Regions from separate parts of the Homo sapiens genome. Here region 1 is linked to region 2. The links are contacts of gene promoters, found by promoter capture Hi-C in human tissues and cell types (Jung and others, 2019). All regions are on one chromosome and are shown on one strand. Each heading gives the region's core, a stretch centred on a gene start or on the middle of the fragment in contact. The rest is flanking DNA. Distances are from core to core; before and after follow the strand shown. Region 1 overlaps MTHFR (methylenetetrahydrofolate reductase). Region 2 holds the start of MASP2 (MBL associated serine protease 2).

Region 1 (4,066 bases), core at 173-2,672, 750 kb after region 2:
TCCCATGCTGCACTGATCATCCGAATCACCTGCCAAGCTCAAGAAGTAAAACACACATTCCGAGGACCTCCCTCAGATTTACTGAGTGAGAACCTCCAGGGGTGGGACCTGGAGATCCACTTTTTGAAAAAGCTTATCAAGTGGTTCTGATGACAGCCACCTTTGGGAAACACTGATTTAAGCAGGATTTGTAATGAGAATTAGAATCCCTTTTGGTGATGCTTGTTGGCCAAAGTACAACAAACCCCTCAACAGACACTGTTGCTGGGTTTTGGGGGGAAAATTAGAGGTAACCAAAATGGGGTGGCCAAGCAACGCTGTGCAAGTTCTGGACCTGAGAGGAGATCTGGGAAGAACTCAGCGAACTCAGCACTCCACCCAGAGCCCCCAGCCTGTGCGAGGACGGTGCGGTGAGAGTGGGGTGGAGGGAGCTTATGGGCTCTCCTGGGCCCCTCACCTGGATGGGAAAGATCCCGGGGACGATGGGGCAAGTGATGCCCATGTCGGTGCATGCCTTCACAAAGCGGAAGAATGTGTCAGCCTCAAAGAAAAGCTGCGTGATGATGAAATCGGCTCCCGCAGACACCTTCTCCTTCAAGTGCTTCAGGTCAGCCTCAAAGCTCCCTGCTTCGGGGTGGCCTTTGGGGTAACCTGCCAATAGGGATGACAGTCAGGAGAGGCTGGCCTCCACCTGTTCAAGGCGAGGGATGAAGAGACCACAGGGACTGGGCAGAGAGAGTCCTCTGCTTTGGGGGCTCTGATCTTGCACCTTCCAACAGCACAGCACAGCCTGAACTAAAACAGTGAGTGGCTGGGCTCATGACTGATATGCTTCTGACCCCAGAGATGACTCTCAGGGGAGGTGGCTCAGAGCCCAGTTCCAAGAGTGGGGGTGGATTGCTCCAAACTCCCACACTGTCCTGCCTTGAGCAGCCAAGCAAATCAGGCCTGCACTTGGTGGCCATAGAAAAGAGAAAATGCTACAGTTAGCACTGGCTGGGCAGCATCTGGGGTAGTAAGCTTGACTTTTCTCTAGGCACCGGATTAAACATTGTTTTTAATGTAACACTGAAATTACTCAGGGGTCCAAGATAGTGAAAAGCTAAAAACCAAGTTACACAAGGAAGAACTGAAGAAAGTGATGTTTTCTTCAAAGAAAATAATGGATGGCAGGGTGCGGTGGCTCATGTCTGTAATCCCAGCACTTTGGGAGGCCAAGGCAGGAGGATGACCTGAGGTCAGGAGTTCGAGACCAGCCTGGCCAACATGGTAAAACCCCGTCTCTACCAAAAATACAAAAATTAGCCAGGTGTGGTGGTGTATGCCTGTAATAGCTACTCAGGAGGCTGAGTCAGGAAAATTGCTTGAACCCACGAGACAGAGGTTGCAGTGAGCCGAGATCGTACCATTGCACTCTAGCCTGGGCAACGAGAGCGAAACTCCGTCTCAAAAAAAAAAAAAAAAAAAAGAATGAAAAGAATACAGAAACTCCTTTCAAATGTCCAAAGGTCTGTCCTGGGGAAAAAGGATCCACCATAGGTGAGTTTGTTTTGTTTTGTTTCAGAGACAGGGTCTTGCTCTGTCACCCAGGCTAGAGTGCAGTGATACAATCATGGCTCACTGTAGCCTTGAACTCCCGGGCACAAGTGATCTCCCACTTCAGTCTCCTGAGTAGCTTGGACTACAGATGCAAGCCACCACATCTGGCTAATTAAAAAAAATTTTTTTAATTAATTATTTATTTTTTAGAGATGGGGTCTTGCTATCTTGTCCAGGTTTGTCTGGAACTTCTGGGCTCAAGCAATCCTCCCACCTTGGCCTCCCAAAGTGCTGAGATTACAGGCATGAGCCACTGTACCCAGCCCCCTAGTGAAGTTCTTTATTAGTCATATTCTGTGTTGTTTCTAATGGCAGAACCAGCATCCGGTTCAGAGAGCTGGCTAGAGTACTATAAGCCACTCACAAAACAATGAGCTCCTGGAGTCTGAAAACACAGGGGCAGTGGATGCTGAAGACAAGATTCCAGAATTGCTTAGGAGGTGGGATCAGATGTCCCATAGGCTCCTTACTGGCTCTGTGAACTCTCTGACCCCTTTCCTCAATGACTAAACTTACTAGCCGCCTTGCTCGGTCAGGCAAGCAGGATGACCATAGGCCTTCATGAAACTACATGGAGTGCTGGTTTCATCAGCCCAAGCCCAGGGCAGGACTCTGAGCCAGGCGGAAGGCCAAGCTGCTTTGCTCTGATAAGGCAGTTCCGTTCTTAAGAAACCCAGAGTCATCAAAAAATGAATATAAAAACTATTGTTTCAAGGGGTAAGGGAGTGGGGGATAAAGCAATGGGGCTTCACACTTGCAATAACAAAGCTATTTTCCCAGTAGGAATTTCAGAAACAACAAGGCTTTTTAATAGCTGAAAAGTATAGCTACAATACCTAAATATCACCGAACAAATCTAGCATTTGATTACGTATAGATTTTGCTATTTACTCTATTTTTCTATCATGAACAGCTGAGGGCTTTCTTTTTTAAAATGTTTTTATTTTTTGTAGAGACACGGTCTCACTGTGTTGCCCAGGCTGGTCTTGATCTCCTGCCTCAGTCTCCCAAAGCTCTGGGATTACAGGCATGAGCTACCATGCCCAACAGGTTGGTGTTTTCTAATCCACTCATCTTCATTACCCACTTGATAAGCAAAGTAAGAAACCATTCAGCAACTGTGAGCTCACAGCTTCACTAGTTTCCAATCATTATCACCTAACGCCCATCACGGGTGCATATTCCCCCAGTAACTGACTATATAATGGCTGATACAAGCGATGACAATTTAACAGTTGGAAATGTCTGTTCTCTGACTCCTAATCAGTGCTTCCCAGACTTAGCACCTAAACACCCCTGTTGACAGAATGGACATGTCCATCGGGGGTTAGGGACAAGGCCAAAGTTACTCACAACATGTAATTTTCTTGAAGCCACGTGGTTTGTTTTTTGGGTTTTTTGTTTTGTTTTTTTTGAGACGGAGTCTGGCTCTGTTGCCCAGGCTACAGTGCATTGGTGCGATCTCGGCTCACTGCAAGCTCCGCCTCCTGGGTTCAAGCGATTCTCCTGCCTCAGCCTACCAAGTAGCTGGGACTACAGGCACGCGCCACCATGCCCGGCTAATTTTTGTATTTTTAGTAGAGACGGGGTTTCACTATGTTGGACAGGATGGTCTCAAACTCCTGATCTCATGATCCACCCGCCTTGGCCTCCCAAAGTGCTGGGATTATAGGCTTCAGCCACCGCACCTGGCCTTTTTTTTTTAGTTCATATCACTTTAGATGCTACTCCATAACATAGCCATGTTTAATATAAAAATGGTAGGATTTCTCCCAGAATATTGGCAAAAAAACTGTCATCCCAGAAAATGTGCCAATCCCGGGACTTCCTGTCCCTGGTGCACACTGTCTTGCCATACCTGAGCGCTGTCTGAGACGCTGAGGGCTCAATGCCAGCCTTCAGCTTCAAGGGTGGGAGAGAAGTCCAACCCACCCATTTCTGTTGGGGGAACCTGGTCTTGTGGCTGTGGCCAATGGTGATTCTCTTTCCTGGGAATTTGGAACGGAGGCCTGTCCATTAGCCTGGGGAACTGGCTGGAACTGACACTCTGCACACTCAGGAGCAGGCCAGGTGTGTGGAAAAGCATGGGTATCAGGTCTCCCAGATGAAGCACAGATGTGCAGTGGGAAGCGGAGATGGGGGACCCTGTGGCCCCAGAGGGAATGAGGGAGGGCCTTGCTTTTTGACCTCTTCCAGTGCCTTGTGAGGTCTGAGGCCATCTCCTGATCTTGGGTTCCCTGCCCTCTGGAATCCTGTTAGTAAATATCCCTCTTTTGTGGGGTGTTGTTTTTTTTTTTTTTTTGAGATGGAGTCTTGCTCTGCCACTGAGGCTGGACTGCAGCGGCACCATCTCGGCTCACTGCAACCTCCGCCTCTTGGGTCCAAGAGATTCTCCTGGCTCAGCCTCCTGAGTAGCTGGGACTACAGCCGTGCACCACCACACCTGGCTAATTTTTGTATTTTTAGT
Region 2 (6,848 bases), core at 3,227-5,726:
GTCCCTTCCTAGTCCTGGCCCAGAAGGAGCCCTACACTCTACAGCTCCTTGACACTCCAGGAGAGAGGGCAGCTCTGCGCTTCCAGCCAAGATCTGAGACCCACTTGCTCACCTGTGCTCGTGTAGTGGATCTTCCAGCCTGTGTGGTCTCCTGATTCATCTGTGACAAAGGTGATGGTCACCGTGTTGCTTTTTGTTTCAATCCTGTGGGGCAATGTCTTCCCACAGAATGGGCCATGTTCTTCTCTGTCTGTTTGAATCTGAGAAAGAAGCTCATGAAAGCTGGGGAGCAGCTGCCTGGGTCTGGCCTGGGCCGGAGGGAAGTAACCCACCTCCTCAGCATTTCAGGGACAGCCAATGAGGCCAACCCAGGCCATGGATTGGGGTGCCCCTCCCCACTCTGCCTCCCACACTTGTACTCGAAGGCCCCAGCCTTGGACCTCCATAGAGCACCTGAAGAGGTGGGGGTCACCGAGGGTGACGGGAACGTGGTGGGGGCCATGCTGCAGGAAGTAGGGGGTGCAGCTGGGCTGAGGGGGAGGATCTGGGACAAGATGAGGGGCCCAGGAGCCAGACCTTGAGAAAGTCGTAGGGACACAGGGTTTCAGGGTGTGTCTCCACATCGAAGGACTCCACAAAGTCCAGAATGACACTGAACCCCTCCTCCAGGCTGATGCTGTAAGTGCAACTGGAGAGTTTGGGATACGGCCGTGGGTATTCAGGGCTGCTGAGCTCCCCAGACCTCTGGGTGAAGACCTGGCCGGAGCACAGGGCTGGAAGGAGGGAAGGCAGGGGAGTGACTTGGCGTGCCCTCTATCAGCCCTCGCACCAACAGCAGGGTGGATGCCTTGGGGAGCAGGAAACTGGGACAGGGATGTGGCTGGGACATCTGCATCCCTGGGTTGGGCTGGGCCCTGCAGGTGGCCAGCCCCTGAGGCCTACCCAGAAACCAAACGACCCACCCGATGGCTGAGGGGCCGCTTAGAGAGGGGGTTTCTCTTGCTTTGAGGCTTTAGCTGAAACAGGCAGCACTCGGGATGGAGCGCACAGGCCCTCACTCACACCCCCAGGGAGCGTGGTGGTGTCCTGAGCCAGAGTCGCAACCCCAGGGTAGGGGCTAGAGCACTGAGTTCCACCAGGCTCTGCCGGGGCGGGGGGCGGGGGTGGATGGACACACAGGAAGGAGGAAGAAGGGACACTCTCCTTGGTCCCTGGGAATTCGGGAAAAGAGAGGAGCATCTCCTCGAGCCTAAGGGCCCCTTCGGAGCTCCCCTAAATTCCCTTACAGCCACCCCAGTGATTCCCAAGTTTATTCATCAGGGGTCTCCTACCCGAACCCAGCCAAGACCAGCCAGCCCCCTGGGTTCCTGGAGGAACCATCCGGAAGAAGGGTCTCTCATCACCCCCTTTCCCCAGGTCTGACCCCTGCCCTGGGGGCTGCTCCTGGAAGTTCAAGGCAACAGTGATCATGACTGAGTCTGGTGCTCTCCTTCCTCGCTGGAACAGCTGATGCTGCTGCCACGGGCGGGGTGTTGGGCTGGGCTCTATCCCTCAAGGAAGGCTTGGTCCCCATCCCATACCACCACCCCACCCCCAGCTGCAGTGGGGGGCATTTGAGTTGTGAGGCCTCTAGGAAGTGAGGAGCCCCAACATTGCCTGCCTTCTTCCACGTGGCTGTGCCCTATGGGGCAGTGGGAATCACCCCTGGATTTGCGGGGGACCAGATTACCCCTCAATGAATATCTCCCAGGGTGTCTCCTCTGTGGGTCAGGCTCCTCCAGGCCAGACCCTGAATGGGGGTGGTTCAAGATTACTCTGGGCTCAGCCTCTGGGGACCTGGACTCGAGCGAGGCCTTGCCCCTCTCCGGGCCTCAGTGCCCCATCTTCAAAACGGGGGGTGAGGCCAAGGAGCCTGTGGCCCCATGGAGGAGGCTCCCACAGACCTGGGGTTCATGAGGCTGTGAGGAGGGTAGGCAGAGAGGAGCGCACCCCGCCGCCTCCCGACCCTCCCACCCCAGAGACACGTGGCAGCAGGTGGGGTGGGGCCAGGTTTATTATTGGGTCCATGGTGGGTGAATGGGAGTTGGGGCACAGCCATCTCAGCCCAACCCGGAGCTGAGGCCAGCAGGCTGGCTCTGGCTTCTGACCTGCTGGGCAGGCCGGAGCTCCAGGGGAGGCTAGAGGCTCTGCTCTGGAAGAGAGATCAGAGAGGCAAGGAGAGACACCGAGAGGGAGAAACCGAGTCGGGGGAGGCAGGGTCAGCGCCAGCAGGTGGGGCTGCCCACGCCCCAGAGCACTGGCCCGTCCCACAGTGCAGGGAACCAGGGAACCAGGTCCCAAGGAACGAGGGCTAGATACCCCCGACTCTCCCGTGGCTACATGAGGGGTTCCCAGAGCCCAGGTGGAACCAGGTACACAGTGGGATGTTAGAATTAGTCTCAGTCGCTAGGGCAGGGTGGCACTGATGAGCCTGGCTGCTGAGAGGGGAAGCAGGGCTGAGAAGGGGAGCTGGAGGCAGCAGGGCCTAGAAGCACCCAGTGTCCAGGGCCCAGGCCCTCCGCACCCCTGGGCAGAGCAGCAATGGCCCTGAGGAGCCCCGGGTATCCCAGGAGAGGGTGCGTTGGGGCCCAGGCAGCCTCCCTCACCTGAGCAGGTGCGCTTGTTACGGTGCAGGACGTAGCCTGCGCGGCAGGAGCAGTAGAAACCGCCCAGGTGGTTGTGGCAGTGGTGGTCGCAGGTGGGCGCCTCTCCCGGGGCCACCTGGCACTCGTCAATGTCTGGGGGAGAGGCAGGGCCAGGCAGGCCGTCAGGAGGGAAAGAGGCGGGATCCAGCCTGGACTCCTCCCAGGAGATCCATGACCTCAGAGTGGACCTCAGAGGAGGCCTCGTCCTGTCTAGGGTGCGGGACTGGTGCCGGGCCAATCACCTTACAGGCCTAGGGTCGCTGCAAGCTCCCAGCAGCGCTGGGAGAAAGATGCAAACATCACCTCTGTTAAACCAGTGGGAGTTTCAGTGTCCGGCCCGAGGTCACCCAGCTAATGAGGGGAGTCAATCAAACCCAGGGGGCGGGGCTACAGCGCTGAACCCTTGCAGCAGCTTCCTAAGGAGCAGAGAAATTGAGCCACTTGCCAGAGGTCACACAGTTGGTCTCTGCAGGGACTGGGATCTGAAATCAAACATCCTGGCAGCGCTCCCGCTGGCAGGGCCCCACTTTGTCAGCTGTAAATGGGGCCCTCGGCCCCTGCGTCGTTTTTGTTTTTTGTTTTTTGAGACGGAGTCTAGCTCTGTCGCCCAGGCTGGAGTGTAGTGGTGCAATCTCTGTTCACTGCAGCCTCCACCTCGCAGGTTCAAGCAATTCTCCTGCCTCAGCCTCCCTAGTAGCTGGGATTCCAGGTGCGCACCACCACGCCCAGCTAATTTTTGTAGTTTTAGTGGAGATAGAGTTTCACCGTGTTGCCCTGGCTGGCCTTGAACTCCTGACCTCAAATGATCAGCCAGCCTCGGCCTCCCAAAGTGCTGGAATTACAGGCGTGAGCTGCTGCGCCCGGCCAGTCCCTGCGTCACTTGAGGCGATGCTGTCCTCAGATCCCTGGCTCAGAGTTGGCACTCAGCCCATGTGAATGGAGGTCACGGCTGTTTTGGTCTTTGCATTGTGGATGATGTCAGGCCAGAGGCCTCTCCCCTGCCCTGGGAAAGGTGGGGAAACTGAAGGCAGGGCTGCCTGGCCTAAGACAGAGTTACCCCCACAGCCAGCTGCGCAGACTGAGATGTTGCAGGACCCCTCTTGGCTCACCCTCGGCTGCATAGAAGGCCTCGAACCCCGTGAACGGCTTCTCGTTGGAGTAGTCGGAGCGGAAGGTAATGTCCAGGCTGGAGCCCAGCGAGTAGAAAGTGTCCTTGCCAGGGGCCCGCTCCGTGTCTGTGCTCTCCTGCCCGCACAGCGTGGCCAGCACCTTGGCCCCCGAGCTCAGCTGTGGGGTCAGGTGTCACAGGGAGTGAAGGCAAGACCCAGGCCTGATCTCCCTCCTGGCCAAGCCTGGCCCCTGCTCCCAGGTGTCCCTGAACCCTGGCTACTCCTTGGGGACCCCCCGACCCTGAGAAACCCCAGCCCTCCCGTCCTGACGGCACCTTGACGAAGTCGTACTCGCAGAGGTGGGAGAGCTCCAGGTCGAAGTGGGTGAAGTAGAGGCGCAGGCGGTAGCCGGGGGGTGCAGTCAGGGTCCAGCGCCGCTCCTGGTCATTGGCATACTCCCCTGGAAAGCCGGGGGATGCCAGGCGCCCGAACACAGGTTCAGGCCACTTCGGGCCCAAGGGGGTGGCCACCGAGCCACACAGAAGGCCCAGGAGGGTCAGCAGCCTATGGGCAGGGCAGGGGCGGTGAGGGCCCAGGCCTGTGCTCCCACCCCACACCCTGCAGGGAGGCTGTGGGCGCCCACCTACCTCATGGTGTGCCCGTCCAGCTGGCCTGGCCTGGTCTGCAGCCCTACGCTGGTCTCACCTTTGATCTGTTTGTCCAGTGACCTGCCCCTGCCCCCAGCCTCCCTGACTCTGGGATTCTGGGAATCGACTCCATGACTCCAGCCTGCTCAGAGTTCCAGGCAGGCAGGACAGGCTGCTCTGGGAGCCAGGAGTCGGACCTAGGTAACAACAGCCTGGAAACAAATCCTGGCTCTGCCCCTCACCCCTCCCTTTTTTTTGGATCTTGTTCTGTTGCCCCGGCTTCAGTGCAGTGCTGCAATCATAGCTCACTGCAGCCTCTACTTCCTGTGTTCAAGCAATCCTCCCACCTCAGCCTCCCAAGTAGCTGGGATTACAGGCGAGCACCACCACACCTGGCTAATTTTTTATTTTTGGTAGGGATGGGGTTTCTCCATGTTGGTCAGGCTGGTCTTGAACTCCTGCCCTCAGGTGATCCACCTGCCTTAGCCTCCCAAAGTGCTGGGATTACAGGTGTGAGCCACCGTGCCCAGCCTCAGGCTGGCTAATTTCTTAAACCCTGTCAGAAGGACCTGGTGCCACCAATTCCCGATTCCCTTGCAGGCTTAGAAGTCGCTTTTGGCTGGGCTCGGTGGCTTATACCTGTAATCCCAGCACTTTGGGAGGCCAAGGTGGGTGGATCACGAGGTTGGGAGTTTGAGACCAGCCTGACCAACATGGTGAAATCCCATCTCTACTAAAAATACAAAAATCATCCAGGTGTGGCAGCGCGCACTTATAATCCCAGCTACTCGGGAGGCTGAGGCAGGAGAATTGCTTGAGCCTGGGAGGCGGAGGTTGCAGTGATCCGAGATCGCACCACTGCACTCCAGCCTGGACGACAGAGTGAGACTCCACCTCAAAAAAAAAAAAAAAAAAAAAGAAGTTGCTTTCCAGGCAGTTATTTCACACCTGTTTATCTGTTCTTCCAGCTTCCAGAACTTTGAGGCTGCTGCTTCCTCTTCCACACTCTGTCCTCATGGATTCATGTCTTGTCTTTTTTTTTTTTTTATCCCCTTTATATTTGTTTTTGTTTTTTGTAGAGATGGGGGTCTCCCTGTGTTGCCCAGGCTGGTCTTGAACTCCTGAGCCAAAGCGATGCACCTGCCTCAGCCTCGCAAAGTGCTGGGATTACAGGTGTGAGCCACCAAACCTCTGCCTCCGGGGTTCGAGCAATTCTCCTGCCTCAGCCTCCCGAGTAGCTGGGATTACAGGCATGCGCCACCACGTCCGGCTAGTTTTGTATTTTTAGTAGAGACGGAGTTTCTCCATGTTGGTCAGGCTGGTCTCGAACTCCCAACCACAGGTGATCCACCCGCCTCAGCCTCCCAAAGTGCTGGGATTACAGGCGTGAGCCACCATGCCTGGCCTATTTTCTTTTAGAGACCGGGACTCTGGCTGGGTGTAGTGACTCCTGCCCATAATCCCAGGAGGCTGGGAGGCTGAGGCAGGTGGGTCGCCTGAGACCGGGAGTTCAAGACCAGCTTGGGCAACATAGCAAGACCTTGTCTCTAAAAAAAAAAAAAATTTTTTTAAATTAGCCAGGCATGGTGGCATGCACCTTTAGTCCCAGCTACTTGGCAGGCTGAGATGGGACAATCGCTTGAGCCCAGGAGGTCTCAAGGTTGCAGTGAGCCATGTTCATGCCATTGAACTCCAGCCTGGGTGACAGAGTAAGATTTTGTCTCAAAAAATACATACATAGCAATAATAATAATGCAAGAAAATTTCCCAGAACTGAAGAACGTGATACTGATCGAAAGTGTGCCCCAAGTGCCCAGAAAAGGAGATAAAAATATTAATACAGCTTTACACATATTTAAAAACACTGGAGAGAATAATTATGTTTTACAAACAAAGAGAAAGAGAAAAATCAAATAGTAAATCACATGCAAAAGATCAGGAAAAAGAATTATTTTGGAGTTAAACCTCATCTCTACTAAAAATACAAAACTTAGCTGGGCATGGTGTTGCGTGCCTGTAATCCCAGCTACCTGGAAGGCTGAGGCAGGAGAATCGCTTGAACCTGGAGGCTGCAATGAGCCAAGATTGTGCTACTGCACTCCAGCCTGGGACACAGCGAGACTCCATCTCAAAAAAAAAAAAAAAAAAAAAAAAAAATAGACGGAGTCTCGCTCTGTCCCAGGCTGGAGGGCAGTGGTACGATCTCAGCTCATTGCAGCATCCACCTCCTGGATTCAAGCGATTCTGCTGCCTCAGCCTCCCAGGTAGCTAGGATTAGAGGCATGTGTCAACACGCCAGGCTAATTTTTGTATTTTTAGTAGAGACAGGGTTTCACCATGTTGGCCAGGCTGGTCTCGAACTCCTGACCTTGTGATCCGCCAGCCTCAGCCTCCTAAAGTGCTGGGAT

Evidence for each region. The method cuts DNA at HindIII sites, captures the fragments that hold promoters and counts their contacts. A contact is called where the count stands out against the background at its distance.
Region 1: a contact is called between a fragment that was not itself captured here and the fragment with the promoter of MASP2 in region 2, in 1 of the 25 tissues and cell types used here (dorsolateral prefrontal cortex).

Annotation. Positions count from the first base shown.
Region 1 is chr1:11,795,749-11,799,814 of GRCh38, forward strand. MTHFR (methylenetetrahydrofolate reductase) reads right to left here. Exons shown (of 12, transcript NM_005957.5): 5 at 458-651. Among named protein-coding and RNA genes, the nearest start is that of MTHFR, 8.2 kb to the right of the region's middle. The HindIII fragment of the contact is 7,275 bases long and covers 1-4,066 here.
Region 2 is chr1:11,042,763-11,049,610 of GRCh38, forward strand. MASP2 (MBL associated serine protease 2) reads right to left here and starts at 4,477. Exons shown (of 11, transcript NM_006610.4): 1 at 4,441-4,477; 2 at 4,129-4,357; 3 at 3,794-3,971; 4 at 2,646-2,777; 5 at 577-773; 6 at 113-260. The coding sequence starts at 4,445. RefSeq lists an enhancer at 2,982-3,814. The HindIII fragment of the contact is 18,625 bases long and covers 1-6,848 here.